2 separate regions of the Homo sapiens genome follow, and region 1 is linked to region 2. The links are contacts of gene promoters, found by promoter capture Hi-C in blood cells and fetal thymus (Javierre and others, 2016). All regions are on one chromosome and are shown on one strand. Each heading gives the region's core, a stretch centred on a gene start or on the middle of the fragment in contact. The rest is flanking DNA. Distances are from core to core; before and after follow the strand shown. Region 1 holds the start of MRPL42 (mitochondrial ribosomal protein L42). Region 2 holds the start of NR2C1 (nuclear receptor subfamily 2 group C member 1).

The links. The method cuts DNA at HindIII sites, captures the fragments that hold promoters and counts their contacts. A CHiCAGO score of 5 or more calls a contact.
Region 1: the fragment with the promoter of MRPL42 here is called in contact with the fragment with the promoter of NR2C1 in region 2 in 1 of 17 cell types (total CD8 T cells); the score reaches 5.1 in total CD8 T cells.

Annotation. Positions count from the first base shown.
Region 1 is chr12:93,465,830-93,468,925 of GRCh38, forward strand. It overlaps MRPL42 (mitochondrial ribosomal protein L42), which reads left to right and starts at 1,685. Exons shown (of 6, transcript NM_014050.4): 1 at 1,685-1,725. RefSeq lists enhancers at 1,517-1,576, 1,637-1,906. The HindIII fragment of the contact is 2,939 bases long and covers 1,466-3,096 here.
Region 2 is chr12:95,072,299-95,075,692 of GRCh38, forward strand. It overlaps NR2C1 (nuclear receptor subfamily 2 group C member 1), which reads right to left and starts at 1,320. Exons shown (of 14, transcript NM_003297.4): 1 at 1,082-1,320. RefSeq lists a silencer at 738-1,017 and enhancers at 907-1,407, 1,098-1,417. The HindIII fragment of the contact is 1,017 bases long and covers 747-1,763 here.

The sequences.
Region 1 (3,096 bases), core at 435-2,934, 1.6 Mb before region 2:
TGTGATGTGTGTTCACTTACTTTCAATACTAGTCACTTCAGGAATATGGTTCTTAACTTGTTGAGGGGTTTATCAATTCCCTGGAATACATAATAAAAGCTATAGATTATTTCTTAGAAAAATATACAAAAGCAAAATTTTGCAAATCATGGGAGAAGGGAATTTCCAGGCGACCGCTTCTGCTTTACCAGCCAATCATCTACTGTCTTGGATACTTGCAGCGTTATCTAGTCTTTTCATTCATTCAGCAAACACTTCCTGGAGACCTATAATGAGACCAAGCACAGTCTGAGATGCTGGGTTTGCATACAGTGAAGAACAAGATAGACATATGTCTCTGTCTTCAAGGAGCTTACATTATCCAGCATAAGAGACATTAAACGAGGTTGGGTGTGGTGGCTCACGCCTGTAATCCAGCCCTTTGAGAGGCCGAGGTGGGCATATCACCTGAGGTAAGGAGTTCGAGATCAGCCGGGCAAACATGGCGAAACCCCATCTCTACTAAAAATACAGAAATTAGCTGGGCGTGGTGGTGGCCACCTGTAATCCCAGCTAATTAGGAAGCTGAGGCAGGAGAATCGCTTGAAGCTGAGAGGCGGAGGTTGCAGTGAGCTGAGATCATGCCACTGCACTCCGGCCTGGGCGATAGAGCAAGACTCCGTCTCAAAAAAAAAAAAAAAAAGAAAGAGACATTCAACGAGCAAACAAATAATCAATATAAAGTCAGGTAATGGTAAATATTCTGAAGGAAAATAAAGCGGGGCATGGAATAAGGGTGGGTGAGGCTATTTTAATGGTGTGGTCCTTTCTAAGATGATATTTGAGAAAGACCTGTAAGGTCATGAGAAGAGGTCAGAGAAGCACATTGCTGGCAATGGGAACAGAGAGTGCAAAGGCCCAGAGGTCTTTCCTTCCTCCTAAGATGGAAAGCGAGGTCCAAGATTCTGCATATTTACTTCCTCCCATAATAGGTAGCCAGCACAGTTCTGAGGGCACAGTGCCAGGTTTTCAGAGTGGAGGTTCTCTTCAGGTTCTGATTTCAAACGTCCAAATCCTAGCCTCCACATTTCAGGGCTTCTCTGGAATGTCTCTTCCCCTGGGAAACTTTAACTCATCTACTAAAGAGCAATCTACGATTTCTCTGAATATTAACATAATTTTTTTAAAAAGTACTTATAGGTTTGCATGGTGGCTCATGCCTGTAATTCCAGCACTTTGGGACGCCGAGGCAGGAGGATTGCTTGAGACAAGCCTGGGCAACATACCGAGACCTCGTCTCTACAAAAATATTAAAAAATTAGCTGGGTGTGGTGGTGTGCGCCTGTAGTACCAGCTACTCAGGAGGCTGAGGTGGGAGGCTCTCTTGGGCCCAGGAGGTAGAGGCTGCAGTGAGCCGTGAGGGAGCCATTGCACTCCAGTCTGGGTGACAGAATGAGACTGCCTCACAAAAAAAAAAAAAAAAAAAAGCTTGTTACTTTCTAAGGGTATGTGTTTGGGGCAGTGATTTTGTTTTTCTGGGCACCTTAGTAACACTGCGGCCACGCTTCCCCAACTAAAGGTAAAAGTCCATAGCAACAATCCTCCCTTTCTCTCTGCACCCGGGCCGCTTTCCCGCGGAGACTACATTTCCCAGAATGCCCCGCGGGCTGGGACGGCGCGCGCAGCGCTGTTTCGTGGGACCAGGATTGAAACAAGATGGCGGGTTCGTGGTGAGAAGCCGTCAAGGTAACCGCTTCCCTCTACTCCTCCTGTCGAGGACTTCCTCGAAACTGGGCAGTCCCACAGTGTTGGTCGGCAGTTGTAGAGGTCTCCCGCCTGTCGTTCCCGGCAGGGCGAGGTTGCCTGCATCCCCAGCCTTTGTCCTTCCTGCAGAAGAGCCGGCATGTGGCTGCGCGTTTCTTATAGCGCCCCCTTTGTTCCCTGGCGGACGCCCGTGGGGAGGTGATGCAGCTTGTGGCTCTAGGGACTCCTTTAGGTCGAAGAGTTCTGGTGCTCTTGGTAGCCTGTTCCTCAAACCTCTGACCCTCAGAGGCTCTGTAGCTTTTGTTTTGGGGTTGAATTCCGGGCTGAGGGACTTGATCTCTGAAATGATCTTCCTGGGGTGAATAATCTGACTCCCAGCAGGGCGTGCTTTTCTCTGGGCTTCGGACAGAGGGGACCTAATTTCCCCCAAGATGTTTTATTCGTGGTCAGAAGTCATGGGTTTACGTCCCACGCATGTATTAAGCAGCGATATACTGAGCAAGTAATCGATTGACCTCTCTGAGCCTTTGTTCTTAATCTGAAATGGAGATGCTGCTTCACACACTTGTGAAAGTCAGAGCACATATTGTATATGAAAGTGGGTTGTAAACTAAAAAGCACACCTATGAGCTCAGGGTTAACGGTGTTAATGTACTGGCAGTGCAAGGTATCAGTGTGAGTGGTTTAGACTAGCAAATAAGAGGGCCTGTGTCCTAATTCTCTTTTATCACTATTGGGGGGAAGGGCACGGATACTCATTGAAGACTATTAAAAACAAGATTTAACAATGGTTATTTGTCATTTATTCACAACAGGCCATGAAGATTGTGGTTTTCCCCATTTTGTCATTGGAGAAACTGAGGATCGTTTAGTTAATGACTTGTTTAAAGTTTCCCAATTTGGCAGTGACTGACTCTAAAGTCCTTGGAAGCAAGACGTTTAAATTTTGTACTTTAGTTTCTTCATGAATCAGAATAAAGATACCTCACATGATTAATACGAGAGCAAAATGAAATGGTGGTGAAAGTACGTTGGAAAGTTAAAGACTTTGTACACATATAAGATGGTGAAATTTTATCTGGGACTTGAGGGCATTTATGAGTTCCTCCAATTGAGTAATAGGCTAAGGATAGGCCTTGTTTGATATTTCTTTATTATTATTATTATTATTAATGGCTCAGGGCAGACAACTATTTCATTTAATCAGAAACAGGATAGTACTGTAAATGATGTAGTATCTTGTGTATGGAACCTTGGAGGGTGTACACAGCCACACTAGCATTAAAAGAATGAATACTCTGTGTACCATTTGTGAGTGACTGTTTCAAGAGTAATTACACATTTACTGAGTAT
Region 2 (3,394 bases), core at 70-2,569:
AAAAAACTAGCTGGGTGTGGTGGCTCGTGTCTGTAATCCCAGCTACTCGGGAGGCTGAGACAGGAGAATCGCTTGAACCTGGAGGCGGAGGTTGCAGTGAGCCGAGATCGCGCCACCGCACTCCAGCTTGGCGACAGTGAGACTCCCTCTCCCTCTCAAAAAAAAAAAAAAAAAAAGAAAAAAAAATCGAGTATCACCAACCACACAGCAGAAATGGTTCAAAAAAGCTCAAAATCGAAGGTCCATTTACAAATTCTAGCGGTACTAAACCCTAAAGGCCGTAATTTTAGGTCTTTCTGCTTTTGCTTTCCGGTTACTTTTTTAAAGGCTGACCTACTTACTGAAGATTATGGGACAACCTGGCAACATTCGTACTGCACAAAAATGGTATCTGCCCGAGTTGGAAGAATTATTTCTTAACAAAAGAGCTATCTATCGGAAGCTTGGACATGCCCCCTGCAGTGAGAACCCTGGGGCCGTTCCATTTCTTCTGAAAAGATCCAGGCCCACAGGCAGCGACGACCCTGGCCAGATTTGCCGTGAGAGAAAAGTGAAAGTGGGGGGAGTCATTCTGTCCGTCCCGTGAAAGCACGGGAGTTAGTGACGGGATGCAGGCCGGGACTTGCGGCCACTAGCCGAGGGTCGGCCTCTCCCACGTCTCACTCGTGCCGGCGTTAGCCGTGCGCCCTGGAAGCCCCGGCGCTGCGCGCGGCTCTCCCGGGCGGGGAAAGCTGCAGCGCCGCGGAAGCTTTCCCTGCAGGTTAAAGGTCAGAGGCGCTGCGGTAAGCGCAGCTGGAAAGGGGGTTGTGTGCTCCAAGCCGCTCGCCGTCCGGCCCCGCGTCCCGCCGCCCCTGTCGCCCCCGCCTCTCCCGGGGCCCCGCGCATTTGGCGCCGCAGCTCCGCGCTCCCAGCCGAAGTCGAGCAGCCCCAAGCGGCGCTCCCAAACTGAACGGCTCCGCTGGCCGCAGGACGCCGGCCGGGGGATGCGCTGGGACCGCGTCCGTTGGCGGTTGGGGTGAAGGGCACCCCCTGGCCCCCGCCCCCGACGCGGTCGCTGGTGTCCCCACCCAGCGTTTCTTACCGGCGCTTTTGCGCCCTGCTGACTCCGGCGTCGGGCGCCGACGCGACAGTCCCGCGGCTGCCACTCGTGGATTGGGGGGCGCTCCGGGAAGAGAGGTTGAAGAAAGCCGACGGGATGTGGGATCGAGATTCACGGCGGAGAGAGCTTTCTGTGTTTGGGTATTTCTGGGGGGTCAGAGTTCGTGACCTCTTTCTCGGCTCGGCGGCGCGCTATCCCGCCAGCGCCTGCGCATTAGCAACGGGGAGAAGCGGCGAGAGGAGGTCGTGACGTTCCCAGGGTGGGGTGGAGGGATCGGAGGGCCGAGCAGCGGCTCTGTGAGTCCACTGCCCCCTTTTGGCTTGGAGGCAGAGTGCCCCGCCAGAGCTACGCGTTCCCAGCCAGGTAATTTTTGAAGCCACGTGCAAAGGTTTAAGCATCGTTTGCCAAAGGTGGGCATTAGGGGAGGTTTTGAGTCAACGTTTTAGATTTGAGTAATAAATAACCCTCTGGGTCTTAGGCATATCTGTTTCTAATTTCTGGAAAACTGGGCTCTGGGGTAGAGTCCAATCATATTTAAACTTTTTTTTTTTTGTATTACACTTTAAGTTCTAGAGTACATGTACACAACGTGCAGGTTCGTTACATATGTATACATGTGCCATGTTGGTGTGCTGCACCCATTAACTCGTCATTTACATTAGTAAGCTTTATATATAATGACAAGCTGAGGCCGACTCATGCAAATGGTAAGGCAAAGTTTCACTTATAAACTGTTGTGAGTAAAGAGACATAATGGCTAAACAGGGCAAGAATATAATCACTAGAGACTGGGCACGGTAGCTCACGCCTGTAATCCCAGCAAGTTGGGAGGCCGAGGCGGACGGATCACTTGAGCCCGGTTGTTTGAGGCCAGCCTGGCCAACATGGCGAAAACCCGTCTCTACAAAAAAATTAGCCAGTCCTGGTGGCGCGTGCCTGTCGTCCCAATTACTTGGAGGCTGAGGTGGGAGGATCACCTGAGTCAAGACGGCAGTGAGCCAAGATCACACCACCGCACTCCAGCCTGGGTGACACAATGAGTCTTTCTCTCTCTCTCTATATATACACACACACATATATATGTATATTCCACATCCTCTCTATAATATATATATTATTATATATTGAGGATTATCCTCAATGGCCGTTTTTTGTCTGTTTTGCTCAGTGATGTATTACCAAGCACATAGGACAATGCCTGCTATTCAATAATGATGTATGAAATGAAAGCCAGGCAAGTGGCTGCTGGGAGGCCAAGGAAAGATCACTTGGGGCCAGCAGTTGGAGACCGGCTTGGGCAAGATAACAAAACCCTGCCTCCACAAAAAAAATTTTTCAAATTGTGAAATGAAGAGACATTGGTGGAACATCGCATTCTGACAGTGGCCACCTGTAGTGGCAAGGTGTGGCAGGAATAACTGCCCTGTGTGCAAAGTACTCTGCGCTTTAGATTTTGAAGCATTCTTGAAATTTCTAGTTTTTTTTTAAATCTCCTTTGTTTTGTCATGAAATTTCTATTTTATCTAGCTTAGGTCGGCACTGTAGGAAAGCAGCCACAAACTCAGGGCAGAAATCCAAGGAAGGAAAAACAAACGTTTGCTGGGAATGAGAACATCTCTGTTATTTCTCTCTGGAACTAGGCAGACGGACAGAGATCAAGGCATGAAACAATCCCTAACAAGTAAAAATATGCTTTATCCCTCATTAAAAATCCACCTCTGCTGAGCACAGTGGCTTCTGCCCCCAGAGCCTTGGGAGGCTGAGGTAGGAGGCTTGCTTGATGCCAGGAGTTTGAGACCAGCCTGGGCAACATAGTGAGACTCCATCTCTTAAAAAAAAAAGAAAAAAAAAAGGCATGGTGGTGCAGGCCTGTATTCCTAGTTACTGAGGAGGCTGAGGTGGGAGGATTGCTTAAGCCCAGGAGTCTGGTCCAGTGTTGGCACCATTGCATTCCAGCCTGGGCGAGAGTGAAACTTTTTTTTTTTTCCAACCTCTACCTTTTAGCATTATTTGTTGTGTATTTGGTTTGGTTTTAAGGGAGACCCCTGCCAATACCATAAGCTGGTCCCAAAGGTGAAAATTATGAAAGTATAGTCACGTCAGGGATATGTTCTGAGAAATGAGTCCTTAGGCAATTTCATTTTACTCTCATCATAGAGCGTACTTATACAAACCTAGATGGTCTAGCCTAGACACACCTAGGCTGTATGTTGTAGTCTGTTGCTCTTAAGTCACAAACCTAGGACAAACCCGTACAGCATGTTACTGAATACTGTAGGCAGTTGTAACATAATG